2 separate regions of the Homo sapiens genome follow, and region 2 is linked to region 1. The links are contacts of gene promoters, found by promoter capture Hi-C in human tissues and cell types (Jung and others, 2019). All regions are on one chromosome and are shown on one strand. The core of a region is centred on a gene start or on the middle of the fragment in contact, and the rest is flanking DNA. Distances in the headings are between cores, read along the strand shown.

Region 1 (6,838 bases), core at 1,232-3,731:
CGCTGTCCCTGGACTTGGGCCAACTTTGAAGAAAGCAGGGAAATGGAGGCAGACCACCTTGCTCGTGTTGGGGTGGGGCAGAGAAGCTGAATTTCTTCCCTGTACCCTGCCGAGCCCCAGAGTCTAAGACCTGAGTTCCTGGTCCCACCAGGTTGCCTGTGGAGGGGCAAAGGGAGCCAAGGTCACATGTGGGAGGACGGAGACAGGTTCCCAGGCTGCCCCAGCAGGATCTGGCCATTCCCACGGGTGCCCCCTCAGCAGATGGGCCTAGGCCCCTTTGTCCCTGGTTTGCGGCCGCCGCAAGGTCAAATGTTACTGCAGGGCCGCGGGCAGGGGTCAGGGAGGCGGGGTAGAGCCTTGATCCACCCCCAGGCGGGCCCCAGGGGGCACAGGGGTGGCCAGGCTACTGGAAGGGGGTGGGGCAGCCTTTGGGACTGGAACTACTGGAGTTTCTGGGATCTGCGATGGTCTTTCTTCCCCCATCTCCCACCCAGCTCTCAGCTGCCTCGCAAGACTTGTCTCCCCCAAACCTAGTTCTTTGCTCCCTCCCCTTCACAATCCCCTCAAGATTCCTTGAGTCTTCTCTCCCTCTTCTTTTTTTTTTTTTTTTTGAGACAGGGTCTTGCTCACGCTGGAGTGGAGTGACGTGACGTGATTATAACCCACTGCAGCCTTGAACACCTGGGCTCAAGACGGGTCTCACTTTATTGCCCCGGCTGGTCTTGAACTCCTGGTCTCAAGAGATCCTCCTGACTTGGCCTCCCAAAGTGTTGGGATTACAGGCGTGAGCCACAGCGCCTGTCTCTCATCTAAATCTCTTTTCAATCCCTTCTGAGACCTCCACCCCAATGCTCCCCACCAAAGATCCTAGCAGGTCCAGGCAAGGGGCCTAGGATCCCTGCCCTCATCCCAAATTACCAGTCACATTCCCATGCAGCCTCAGAACCAAAGGGTCGTCTCTGCCCACCCACGCCTTCCTCTCTCCCAGCAGGGATTACATCAGGCTGTGGGCAGAACCCGACTCTAGACCTCGGGAAGTCCTTGCTCATGTCTAATCCTAGTCCTTCCTGCTTTTCGTGTTTACTAACGCCTCCTCCTCCACCTCCCAGGCAGCCAGAACGTCCCTGGAGCAGGTTGAGAGGCCCAGGGCTGGGTGTGCCTGGCTCTCCCAGAACCTCAGTTTCTTTTTAAGTGTTGTAAGATCTCTAAGAATCTTTCCCCCTACTCCAGGGAGGGCAATTCTTCAAGTCTCATCAGGGCTCTGGGAGGCAGAGGAGGGGGTGCGCAGAAGGCACTGTCCTGGCCAGAGCTCTCAGAGGCCCAGCTGCATGCTCTGGTGTCCAGCTCTGGGCTCAGGGCGGGGTGGGACCACAGTCTGGGTGGCTGGGGCTGCAAGACTCCGAGGTGAAAGGTCACTCCTGGAAGGGCTTGTCCAGCCGGTTAAAGGTTAACCTGCCCAGAGCCAGAGGCTCGCCAGCCCGGGCCTCGCATACAAAGGGTGCTTAATAAATGCTGGTCGGGCGGGCCCCAGCCCCGGTACTGGGGGATGGGGTGAGTTGGAGGTGGCGGCAGCTGCGAGGCTCCAGGGCGCCTGGAAGAGACATCTGCAGTCCAGCCGGCCGCCAGGCCAAGCCCTTTCTGCAAAGCACAGAAAGAAAAGGAAATTAAAAGGGAAAAAGGGGCAGGCCCCCAGACAGGGCATGCCTGTCGCCTCCAGCCGCGCGGGGCGGGTGGGCGCCCTGCCCCCGGAGGCCAGAAATTCTGCAGAGGGGCCCCCTGACCTCGCGGCCCCGGCCAGCCGGTCTCAGACCACAACATCCCTTCCCCCTGGAGATTCCGGGCACCAGGTGTTAACCCGAGCAGAGAAAGGGTGGGGTGGGGGTCAGACGCGGCGACTTTCTGGAAGAGGAAGCAAACACAATCTAGGGTGTGTGTGTGTGTGTGTGTGTGTGTGTGTGTGTGTGTGTCTGTCTGTCTCGCGCGCGCGTGTGTCTTGCGCAGGGGCGTACCCCCCCCCCGGGTGCCACTGGCCCCCCATCATTGCTTTGCCAGGAACTGTGGGGTGGGGAGAGGTTCCGAGGGGCGCCTCGAGGGTGATCGAGCGACCCAACGTCCAAGGCCAGAGGTGGAGGGGAGGGCCTTGGAGAGACATCTTGGCGAGGCTCAAGGAAGGGCAGAGGGCAGGCGCGGCTGAGGCTCCCGCCGCGGCCCGGCAGGGGTTAAGGCCCGAGCTGGGCGAGGGCGAGGGCGGGGGTGCGGGGGGAGGGGCAGAGGGAGGCGGGGGAGGGTCAGGCCCCGCGGCCCAGCGCTCGGCCCCCGTCCCTCCCGCCGGCCCGTTCGCCCGGCGCCGCGCGCGGCCACCCATGCCCTTATAAGGGCGGCCGTCGCCGGGGCAACGAGCGCCCGCCCCCAGCCCGCGGCGCGCGCCCCTGCCCCCGCCCCCGCCCCCCGCCCGCCCCGCGAATGGAACGCTGTGTGTCAAACCGGCCGCAGCGCGAGGCCGGCGCGCGGGGTCGGTGGCGGTGGCGGCGGCGAGAGCGAGGCTTGGGCCCAGGCGCAGGCCCAGGCCAGGCAGGAGCGGCCGCAGCGGGGGCGGCAGCTCCAGAGGCGCCGGCCCAGCGGCCCTGCAGGCCCGGAGCGGCAGCCGCGGGCGCCGGGGGACCCAGGGGGCGCGGCGATCAGCCCCGGCGCGCACCCGCCGCCCCTCCCCCCCCGCCACGGGCGGCCGCGCAACTTGCGGCCAAACTTTCCCCCCGGCCTCCCGCGCTCGGATGGCGGCCCGCTGAGTTGGCCGCAGCCCCCGGGCGAGCGGCGGCCAGGCCAGAGGACGCCCCCTGCGCGGCTCGGGCCGGGCCATGGCCCGCGCGCCCCCGCCGGGGCCCCAGGGCGGCGGGACGCGAGTCCTCTGGGCCCCCGGCCCGCGCCTCTAGCGTGCCCCTCCCGGCCCCGGGCCCGGCCCCGCGCACGCGTGGGAAAGTTGGCCTGGAACCGGCCCGACCAGTTCCGCCCGGGCGCGAGGACCGGCCGCAGGAAGTTGCTGCAAAACTTTTTTGGGGGGTGCAGCCCGTGCCCCCCGCGCGCCGGGGCCGAATGCGCGCCGCGTAGGGTCCCCCGGGCCGAGAGGGGTGCCCGGAGGGAAGAGCGCGGTGGGGGCGCCCCGGCCCCGCTGCCCTGGGGCTATGGCCATGGTGACCGGCGGCTGGGGCGGCCCCGGCGGCGACACGAACGGCGTGGACAAGGCGGGCGGCTACCCGCGCGCGGCCGAGGACGACTCGGCCTCGCCCCCCGGTGCCGCCAGCGACGCCGAGCCGGGCGACGAGGAGCGGCCGGGGCTGCAGGTGGACTGCGTGGTGTGCGGGGACAAGTCGAGCGGCAAGCATTACGGTGTCTTCACCTGCGAGGGCTGCAAGAGCTTTTTCAAGCGAAGCATCCGCCGCAACCTCAGCTACACCTGCCGGTGAGCCCCCCATCCGCGCGCCGCCGCCGTGCACCCCGCCCCGACCTGGGGCAGGCCTCTGACCTGCTCGGTCACCTTGGGCCTGGCGCTGACCTTCCCTGGGCCTCCACTGCCCCCTCTGAGATAGGGGCACAGCACCCTCCTCCCGCATTCCATGGCTGGGATTGTGTATACAGTCGGCGCTACATCGTTGCAGGTTCCCCCCCCATCAGGTGGTCCCTGGAGGCTTTTGCCCCAGTTACTTGCTTCTCCTTCCCTCCGCTTTTTCTCTGGGGAGGGGTCATCTCCGCGCTGGGGTGGGGGTAGGGGTGCTGTCAGGGGTGGTAACCCAACCCCAGGGCACCCGTTCTCGGGGATCCCGGCGCGCGGGATGCCCTCGAGGGAATCGAACGTGGAACTTGGACCGTGGAGCTCGCAGCGTCCAGGGGCCATTGTCTGCGGCCGCGCGGATCGATACGGCGCGCCCTTGGGGTCAAATATCACTTCCAAAGTCGCTGTGGCTACGGAGGCGGCAGACGGAGGGAGGCTGGGGTGGCACGGGGCGGCCTTCTTCGCATGAGGGGCCCAGCGGTGGGGGTGGGGGTGGGAGCTGGGCTTGCCCATCTCAGGGAACCCCTCTGGGCTCACTCTGGGCCTTGGGTCACCGGAAATCGCCACTGGAAGGCCGGCAGGGCCACCGGAATTGACTGAAACGTCCCTCTCCCCCAGGGGTGGGTGCAGACCTGGGGCTCCTGGAAAAATCCCTCAAACTTTGGGTGTCTCTGAGACGGGCAGGGAGTGAAACGTTTCCGAGCAGGAGCCTTGGGCTGTCCCAGGTCGGAGACCTCTCTGGCAGGGCGTGGCCTTGCTAGCTGTTCTGGCGGAAGGTCCCCAGGGAAAGCGATCGGGGTTGTCCAGCCCGGGAGTTCTTTTCTCACCGTTCCCGGGCGAGCATCCGATCTGTCCGTTTATAAGCCCCTACTCTGCACCCCAGGAACATGCAGGGTCTCTGTGGAGCCCGTCTAGACGGTCTCAGTTCCCAGCTGCCCAAAACAGAGGCCCAAAGGCCCAGAGAGAGGTCCTGGTGCCTGCTTTGCGTTGGACATGGAGGGACGCTGCCCGAGTTGGGGGCACTGTGGGGGAACTGTGGGGCTAGGGTGGGGACCGCTGAGTTCGGATCGGAGTGGCCCCAGGGAGAACGGCTGATGGAAGGCTTGTTGGCTGAGGCCACCAAATAGGGCCCCAGGTACCCGAGGGTGGAGTTTGGCCCCAGGTCCCGGGTCAGGGCTGGCCTGGTGTGGCCATGTGTGGCAGAGCTGCCTTGCTCCCTCCTCCAGCACAAAGTGGGCCACTAGACTTTGGCCTCATTCTTGCTGCTGGAAAACCGCCTGCTCTCTGGTCATATCTTTAGGGAGGGTAAGGGAGGGGGGCTCAGGCAGTTTTGGGGTCCCAGGAGCTTCCTGAGGGTGGTGTCAGGGAGCAGCAATTTTGGGTGGGGGGGGCCTTGCTTGGAGCTGACAGGTTTGTGCTGTGTCAGTTGTGTGACCTGGTGAAATCACCATTCCATTCTGAGCTTCAAATGGATTGAGCAGGGTCTCGCTGGGGCCCAGCCTGGGTAGTTTGATGCCAGCCCCTCCAGAGAGACCCCAGCTCCAAGTCTAGCTCCTGAGAAGCCCCCAGTCTGGAGGAGACACAGTGAGACAGATGCCCCAAGTCTGTGGGATCTGGGGTCCCAGGGAGAGAGCAGAGGCTCTGCCTGGAGGTCAGAGAGGGCTGCCTGGAGGAGGCTAGGGGACATGAGCCTTGAAGCATGGAGTTGGCAGGTGGAAGAAAGGCCACAGGGACATGCCAGAATGTGGTCCAGACAAAACACTTAGTGGCAGACTGGGGGAGCTGTGCTGTAAGAGGGGGACTGTGCAGCCATGGGAGAAGTCAGAGCTAGGTGGGCCTGAAATGCTGGCTGAGGGTAATGGGGAGCCATAGAGGGTGTGTGAGCAGGAGAGGGCTCTGATCAAATTGGACTGGAGGCCAGAAGCCCAGGGAGGAAGCTGAGTTGGGCCATGGGGTTGGGCAAAAAAGCTTGCACTCTTTAGGTGGGATAACAGGAAGAACTTAACTGTTTCCCTCCTTGGAGGGATGGATCTGTCCCAATTCCACAGCTGGGGAAGTTGAGACTGAAGGTTCAGGGCCTCCCCTGAGGTCAGGGGCCCCTGAGCTGGGCCTCTGCCTGCCTGCAGGGCCGCCCCAGGCCAGGCCGTTTCCACCCGGCTGCCCTGGACCCTCCCACCACCCAGCCGCTGGGCTTTGTTCTGGTTCTGCCTGAGCTCCCTCTGCCCTAGTGGGGCCTCTTCCCAGGGGCTCAGTGGCTGGTGCTGCAGGACCCAGGCAGTGGTGGAGGGGGGGTACGGGGGAGTGGGCGCAGATCCTCAGCTTTCCTAAGTTGGGTTCTCCGGCTGGGCTCTGGGTCTTGGCACTGTCCCCCGTGAACCCCTCTGACCCAGTCCATCCCATATGATAGGGCAATATCTGACCTCCCATTTTCAGATGAGGAAACCGAGGCTCAGTGGGGCAGTCGCCACCTGAGGGGCAGGGCTGGGTATCTGCAGCTGAGATTCATCTGTTTTGTTTTGTTTTGTTTTGTTTTTGAGACGGAGTTTCACTCTTGTTGCCCAGGCTGGAGTGCGATGGCGTGATCTCAACTCACTGCAACCTCTGCCTCCCGGGTTCAAGCGGTTCTCCTGCCTCAGCCTCCCAAATAGCTGGGATTACAGGCATGCGCCACCATGCCCGGCTAATTTTGTATTTTTAGTAGAGACAGGTTTTCTCTATGTTGTTCAGGCTGGTCTCAAACTCCCAACCTCAGGTGATCCGCCCGCCTCGGCCTCCCAAAGTGCTGGGATTACAGGCATGAGCCACTGCACCCAGCCTTTTTTTTTTTCTTTTTTTTTGAGACAGAGTCTCACTCTGTCACCCTGGCTGGAATGCAGTGGGTCAATCTTGGCTCACTGCAACCTCCACCTCCCCAGTTCAAGCGATTCTCCTTCCTCAGCCTGCCAAGTAGCTGGGATTACAGGCATGCGCCACCACGCCCAGCTCATTTTTGTATTTTTAGTAGAGACGGGGTTTCACCATGTTGGCCAGGCTGGTCTTGAACTGACCTCAGGTGATCCACCCTCCCCCGCCTCCCAAAGTGCTGGGATTACAGGCGTGAGCCACTGCAGAGATGCATCTGTTTAATTCCCTTAAGTGGTGGTTCTACTCTGTGACTGTCTCTGTGTGTCCCCTGGGTGTCCAGCTGGAACCCCAGGGGTAGTTGCTCCAGGCCCAGGCCTTGGAGAGCCCCCAGCTCCTGGTGGCAAGAGACCAGGGGAGTCCAAGGGCAGGGGCCAAGGGGAGAAGGTT
Region 2 (6,838 bases), core at 1,078-3,577, 55 kb before region 1:
GCTGCAGGGATGACGAACACCTGGAAGGCGGGGGCCGGGGGCGGGGAAGCGGGGCTGGGGTGGCGCCTGTGCGTTGCCCTCCACAATCCGGGATTAGGGCCCCACTCGAGGTGGGGGGCATGGCCTGCTTCCCCTCCAGTATGTCTGGGGCCACTGCGGCTCAGTCTCGGGCGTGCGTTACCTTAGCGGCGCCCAACCTGGGGTAGGGGGCAGGCAGGCAGCTGGTCCCATCTCCAGGCCCTAGACACCTCGACAATGGGGGTGCACTGCTCGGGTATCCCCCCCTTAGGTTATGTAACCGCCTGTGGTTGCCATGGACACGGGGGCGGGGGTGGCCCAAGGAGTGGGATGGAGGCTTGGAGGCCCCCAGCCAGGGCCCTGCCTCTCCCATCCTCTTCGCCACCTCTGGGGACTTGTATAGCAGATCCCCAGAATCCAGGGTGCCAAGGAGGAAGTTCAGAGTCTAGCTTCCTCTCAGAGTGTCTGGGCCTCAGCTTGGCCCTCTATGAAACAGACCCCGGCTCACCCCGGTCTAGGGGAGCTGAGCAAGGCTTTCTGTGGCTCAGTCCCCATCCCCCTCTCCTAGGGCCTCACCTTTCAGGAGTCAAATTCAGAGCCAGGAGCCTCACTGGGGGCTCACCAAAGATTTGCATATTTTAGATGCCTTAGGAGGCCCTGGGGATATGTGAGTTAGTGAGTGCATACCTGGATGAGTTAGTGAGTTAGTGTATACCTGAATGAATGAGTTAGTGTATACCTGAATGGATGAGTTAGTGTATACCTGAATGAATGAGTTAGGAGGCCATAAATGGTATAAACTCCAGCTGGGGGGAGGGGGTGTCTTCCGGCTGGTCCACATTTGCCACAATGTCCCCTTCTCCAGGAACATCCCCACACAAGACGCCACCACCTTCCCTGTGGACACCCTGTGGGGTAAGCCATAGCCAAGTCTTTCTCTCTGAGGATAGACTAGGGTGACCCAGGAGGGTAACTACCACAAAGGCACTGCTCAGACAAAACATGTCAGTGCACGGTGGCTCACACCTATAATCCCAGCACTTTGGGAGGCCGAAGCAGGAGGAAAATTTGAGGTCAGGAGTTCAAGACCAGCCTGGCCAACATGGTGAAACCCCATCTCTACAAAAAATACAAAAATTAGCTAGACATGGTGGCACCTGCCTATAATCCCAGCTACTCAGGAGGCTGAGGCAAGAGAATCGCTTGAACCCAGGAGGGGGAGGTTGCAGTAAGCCGAAATCCGGCCACTGCCCTCCAGCCTGGATGACAAAGCGAGACTGTCTCAAAAACACACACACACACACACACACACACACACACAAACAAAAAAATCTCAGTGCCGTGGCTCACTTGATCTGGCGCTCCCCAAACTGGAGTCTAAAACAGTTCTCCCAAGGCTCAGGGAGTGCCTGCTGCACGGTGCAGGGTTCTCATTGAGACAGCACCTGAACTGGCTGCTGTCCTCACTCACAGGACACACCATGCTGACCGGGGTGACCGACGGTATCTTCTGTTGCCTGCTGGGCACGCCCCCCAACGCCGTGGGGCCACTGGAGAGCGTCGAGTCCAGCGATGGCTACACCTTTGTAGAGGTCAAGCCCGGCCGCGTGCTGCGGGTGAAGCATGCAGGACCCGCCCCAGCCGCTGCCCCACCTCCACCATCATCCGCATCCTCGGATGCAGCCCAGGGGGACCTCTCCGGCTTGGTCCGCTGTCAGCGCCGGATCACCGTGTACCGCAATGGGCGGTTGCTGGTGGAAAACCTGGGCCGAGCCCCTCGAGCCGACCTCCTACACGGGCAGAATGGCTCTGGGGAGCCGCCGGCCGCCCTGGAGGTGGAGCTGGCAGATCCGGCGGGCAGCGATGGCCGCTTGGCCCCCGGCAGCGCAGGCAGCGGCAGCGGCAGTGGCAGTGGTGGGCGGCGGCGGCGAGCCAGGCGCCCCAAGAGGACCATCCATATTGACTGTGAGAAGCGCATCACTAGCTGCAAAGGCGCCCAGGCCGACGTGGTGCTCTTTTTCATCCATGGTGTCGGCGGTTCCCTGGCCATCTGGAAGGAGCAGCTGGACTTCTTTGTGCGCCTAGGCTATGAGGTGGTGGCTCCTGACCTGGCCGGCCACGGGGCCAGCTCTGCGCCCCAGGTGGCCGCAGCCTACACCTTCTATGCGCTGGCTGAGGACATGCGAGCAATCTTCAAGCGCTATGCCAAGAAGCGAAATGTGCTCATTGGCCATTCCTACGGGTAAGTGAACCCTGGCATGTGGGGTGGGGGTGAGGGATGGGGTCAGCAGGGACTACAGTCACAAAATACTGAGTTTTTGGCTGAGCCCCGTGGCTCACGCCTGTAATCCCAGCACTTTGGGAGGCCGAGGCAGGCGGATCACCTGAGGTTGGGAGTTCGGGAACAGTCTGGCCAAGGTGGTGAAACCCCGTCTCTACCAAAAATACAAAAATTAGCCAGACGTGGTGGCACGCGCCTGTAGTCCCAGCTACTCGGGAGGCTGAGGCAGAGGAATCACTTGAACCGAGGAGGTGGAGGTTGCAGTGAGCCGAGATTGTGTCACTGCACTCCAGCCTGGGCGACAGAGGGAGACTCTGAGATGCCACTGACACCTGTAATCCCAGTGCTTTCGGGGGCCAAGGCGGGAGGATATCTTGAGGCAAGGAGTTTGAGACCAGCCTGGGCAACATAGGGAGAACCCCCTAGCTCTACAAAAAGTACAAACATTAGCTAGGTGAGGAGGTGCACGCATATAGTTCCACCTACTTAAGGGCTGAGGCAGGAGATTGCTTGAGTCTGGGAGGTCGAGGCTGCAGTGAACTGTGATCACACCACTGCACTCCAGCCTGGGCAGCATGGCAAGAACCTGTCGCTCTTTAAAAAAGAAAAAAAAATCCGGGCGCGGTGGCTCACGCCTGTAATCCCAGCACTTTGGGAGGCTGAGGCGGGCGGATCACGAGGTCAGAAGATTGAGACCATCCTGGCTAACACGGTGAAACCCTGTCTCTACTAAAAATACAAAAAATTAGCTGGGTGTGGTGGTGGGCACCTATAGTCCCAGCTACTCGGGAGGCTGAGGCAGGAGAATGGCATGAGCACGGGAGACGGAGCTTGCAGTGAGCCAAGATCATATTGTGCCACTGCACTCCAGCCTGGGCGACAGAAGGAGACTCCGTCATGAAAAAAAAAAAAGGGGCCACCACGCGCGGTGGTGCACATTTGTAATCCCAGCACTTTGTGGATGGATCATTGGAGATGAGTTTGGACAACATGGCAAAACCTTATCTCCTAAAACAAAACAAAGCAAACAAAAATCCTAATTTTTCTCCTTGAAAAAAATCCCATTTTTCAATTTAATTTTTACATTTTTAAAATTTTTTTTTCTTTTAAATAGAGATGGCATCTCACTATGTTGCCCAAGATGTTCTTTAACTACTGGGCTCAAGTGATCCTTGCACCTCAGCCTCCCAAAGTGCTAGGACTACAGGTGTGAGTCATTGTGCTCAGCCTTAATTTTTTTTTTTTTTTTTTTTTTTGAGATGGAGTCTCACTCTGTCCCCCAGGCTGGAGTGCAGTGGCGTGATCCTGGCTCACTGCAAGCTCCACCTCCCAGGTTCATGCCATTCTCCTGCCTCAGCCTCCCTAGTAGCTGGGACTACAGGCACCCGCTACCATGCCTGGCTAATTTTTTGTCTTTTTAGTACAGACGGGGTTTCACCGTGTTAGCCAGGATGGTCTCGATCTCCTGACCTCGTGATTCGCCCTCCTCGGCCTCCCAAAGCGCTGGGATTACAGGCGTGAGCCAACGCACCAGGCCAATTTTCAAGTTCAAAAAAAAATTATATAGAGAATGGGGGGGGGGTCTCATTATGTTGCCCAGGCTGGTCTTGAACTCCTGGGCTCAAGCCATCCTCCCTCCTTGGCCTCCCGATGTGGTGGGGTAACAGGCATGAGCCGCTATACCAGGCTGAAAACTCCCATTAGCATATGTAATCAGACAGGGATTTCCGTCATCACTGATATTGTTTCACATTGTTCTAAAGCAGTGTTGCTCAGGCCAGGTGCAGTGGCTTACGCCTGTAATCCTAGCACTTTAGGAAGCCAAAGCAGGCAGATCACTTGAGGTCAGGAGTTCAACACCAGTTTGGCCAACATGGTGAAACCCCATCTCTACTAAAAGTACAAAAAATTAACCAGGCATGATGGTGTGTGCCTGTAATCCCAGCTACTCGGGGGTGTGAGGCAGGAGAATCACTTGAACCTGGGAGGCAGAGGTTGCAGTGAGCCAAGATCACACCACTGCACTCCAGCCTGAGCAACAGAGTGAGACTCTGCCCAAAAAAAAAAAAAAAAAAAAAAAAGCAGTGTTGTTCAATCCCAGCACTATCGTGTTTGGCCAGGTTATTTTTTTTCTGTGAGGGGCTATAGGATGTTTAGTAGCATCCCTGGCTTCTGCCCACTGGATGCAACTACACAATCTAGTGTTGATCATGACAGTCAAAAATGTCTTCAGTAGTTGCCAAGCGTGCCCTGGTGGGCAGAATTACCCCCAGCTGAGAACCACTGCCTTAGACTAAGTTAAAAAATCAACTGCCCTGGAGAACACTGTGCATTCAGGAAGCGCTCATCGGAATCCTGTAAATTCTAGGCATTTACAAAGGCATGGGTTACTGTAATTCACTCCTGCTTAAAGGGCAGGTAATACAACCTAAAACTTACCAAGAACCCCTCCATGGAAGGCTTGGTCCCCAGGGCTTGACCACTACCAAGTGGCCTCATTCTCTCCTTTATCCAGGAAGAAAGGCAAGATTGAACAGCCAGGCAAGTTGAGCACCACTGTTTTAGAGATTCTAGCCTATGCAATTAGACAAGAAAAAAAGGCCAGGCGTGGTGGCTCACACCTGTAATCCCAGCAATTTGGGAGGCCGAGGCGGGCGGATCAGGAGGTCAGGAGATCAAGACCATCCTGGCTAACACGGTGAAACCCCGTCTCTACTAAAAAATACAAAAAAAAATTAGCCAGGCATGGTGGCAGGCGCCTGTAGTCCCAGCTACTCAGGAGGCTGAGGCAGGAGAATGGCGTGCACCCAGGAGGTGGAGCTTGCAGTGAGCCGAGATTGTGCCACTGCACTCCAGCCTGGGTGACAGAGTGAGACTCCATCTCAAAAAAAAAAAAAAAGAAAAAAGAAAAATAAATAAGTGGCCAGGTGTGGTGGCTTACACCTATAATCCCAACACTTTGGGAAGCTGAGGTGGGAGGACTGCTATAGCTGAGGAGTTCAAGACCAACCTGGGCAACATAAGCAAGATCTCATCTCTACAAAAAACTAAAAAGTAAAAAAAAAAAAAAAAGAAAAGAAAACAAAGAAGTTACATAAGTATCTAAAAGAAAGGAATCTAGACTGAGAGGTAACAGCTCTTATTTGTTTATATTTCTTTATATAACATACTCAAAAGTTGATGCTTATGAGAAATGATTCCTCTAATTAAATGAGCACCCACCTGCTGGGCACAGTGGTTCACACCTGTAATCCCAGAACTTTTGGAGGCCGAGGCAGGCGGATCACAAGGTCAGGAGTTCAAGACCAGCCTGGCCAAAATGGTGAAACCCCGTCTCTAATAAAAATACAAAAAGTAGCTGGGTATGGTTGCAGGTGCCTATAATCCCAGCTACTTGGGAGGCTGAGGCAGGATAATCATTCGAACCCATGAGGTGGGGGTTGCAGTGAGCCGAGATCGCACCATTGCACTCCAGCCTGAGTGACAGAGCAAGACTCTGTCTCGAGAAAAAAACAAAAAAACAAAAAAAACACCCACCTACAATAGTTCCCATGACCCCATAACAGTGCTATTAGGTCAGCACATTTACAACTTCAGGAATGTGGAGGCTGAAGCTCAGAGAGGTGAAGCAACCTGCCCAAAGGCATACAGGAAGTCCCTGACACAATCAGGTCTGCCTGACTCCTGTCTGTATCCTTTCCTCATTACAGCAGGGGCTGGCAAACATTTCCTTAAAGGATCGGATAGCGAATATTTTAGGTTTGCAGGCCATACAGTCACTGTTGGAACTTCTGATAAAACTTTATTTAGGAAACATTTTTTGGCCAGGCACGGTGGCTCACGCCTCTAATCCCAGCACTTTGGGAGGCCAAGGTGGGCAGATCACCTGAGGTCGGGAGTTCAAGACCAGCCTGACTAACACGGTGAAACCCCGTCTCTACTAAAAATACAAAAATTAGCCGGGCATAATGGCAGATGCCTGTAATCCCAGCTACTCGGGAGGCTGAGACAGGAGAATCACTTGAACCCGGGAGGCGGAGGTTGCAGTGAGCCGAGATCGCGCCACTGTGCTCCAGCGTGGGCAACAGAGCAGGACTCCATCTCAAAAAAAAAAAAAAAAACCTTATTTAGGAAACATTTTTCAAATCTCCAAAAGTGTAAACTGTATTTAAAAAAGCAAATGACTAGCCCACAGGCCGTACATAGTTTGTTGACCCCTGCTTTTGTAGGAATGAGGAGCTCAGCTTTGGGGGCTTCTCAGGCCTTCCATCTTGTATAAGGAAGACAGATATGTCATGCCCAGAGGCAGGTGGCAGAACATCCTGAAAGGGAAGGGATAGTAGGAAACAGTGACCTCCCCTGGGCAGCCGGAAGCATTTGTTTAATCAGATTGCTTTCCTACCACTTGCTGATGAGTAATTCTTACCGCTTTTGGGTCATGGTGGCTTGAAGAATCTGATGAGGGCCGGGCACAGTGGCTCATATCTATAATCTTAACACTTTGGAAGGCCAAGGTGGAAGGATCACTTGAGCCCAGAA

What was found. The method cuts DNA at HindIII sites, captures the fragments that hold promoters and counts their contacts. A contact is called where the count stands out against the background at its distance.
Region 2: a contact is called between a fragment that was not itself captured here and the fragment with the promoter of NR2F6 in region 1, in 4 of the 25 tissues and cell types used here (dorsolateral prefrontal cortex, lymphoblastoid cells, spleen and 1 more).

The regions. Positions count from the first base shown.
Region 1 is chr19:17,241,562-17,248,399 of GRCh38, reverse strand. It overlaps NR2F6 (nuclear receptor subfamily 2 group F member 6), which reads left to right and starts at 2,481. Exons shown (of 4, transcript NM_005234.4): 1 at 2,481-3,457. The coding sequence starts at 3,180. RefSeq lists enhancers at 1-598, 1,548-2,497 and silencers at 1,761-1,840, 2,241-2,490, 2,891-3,050, 3,061-3,130. The HindIII fragment of the contact is 6,638 bases long and covers 1-2,615 here.
Region 2 is chr19:17,296,278-17,303,115 of GRCh38, reverse strand. It overlaps ABHD8 (abhydrolase domain containing 8), which reads left to right. Exons shown (of 5, transcript NM_024527.5): 2 at 1,492-2,260. The coding sequence starts at 1,500. It also overlaps a transcript of MRPL34 not described here. Among named protein-coding and RNA genes, the nearest start is that of ABHD8, 3.7 kb to the left of the region's middle. RefSeq lists silencers at 1-118, 502-796 and enhancers at 1,154-1,654, 1,655-2,155. The HindIII fragment of the contact is 7,858 bases long and covers 1-6,256 here.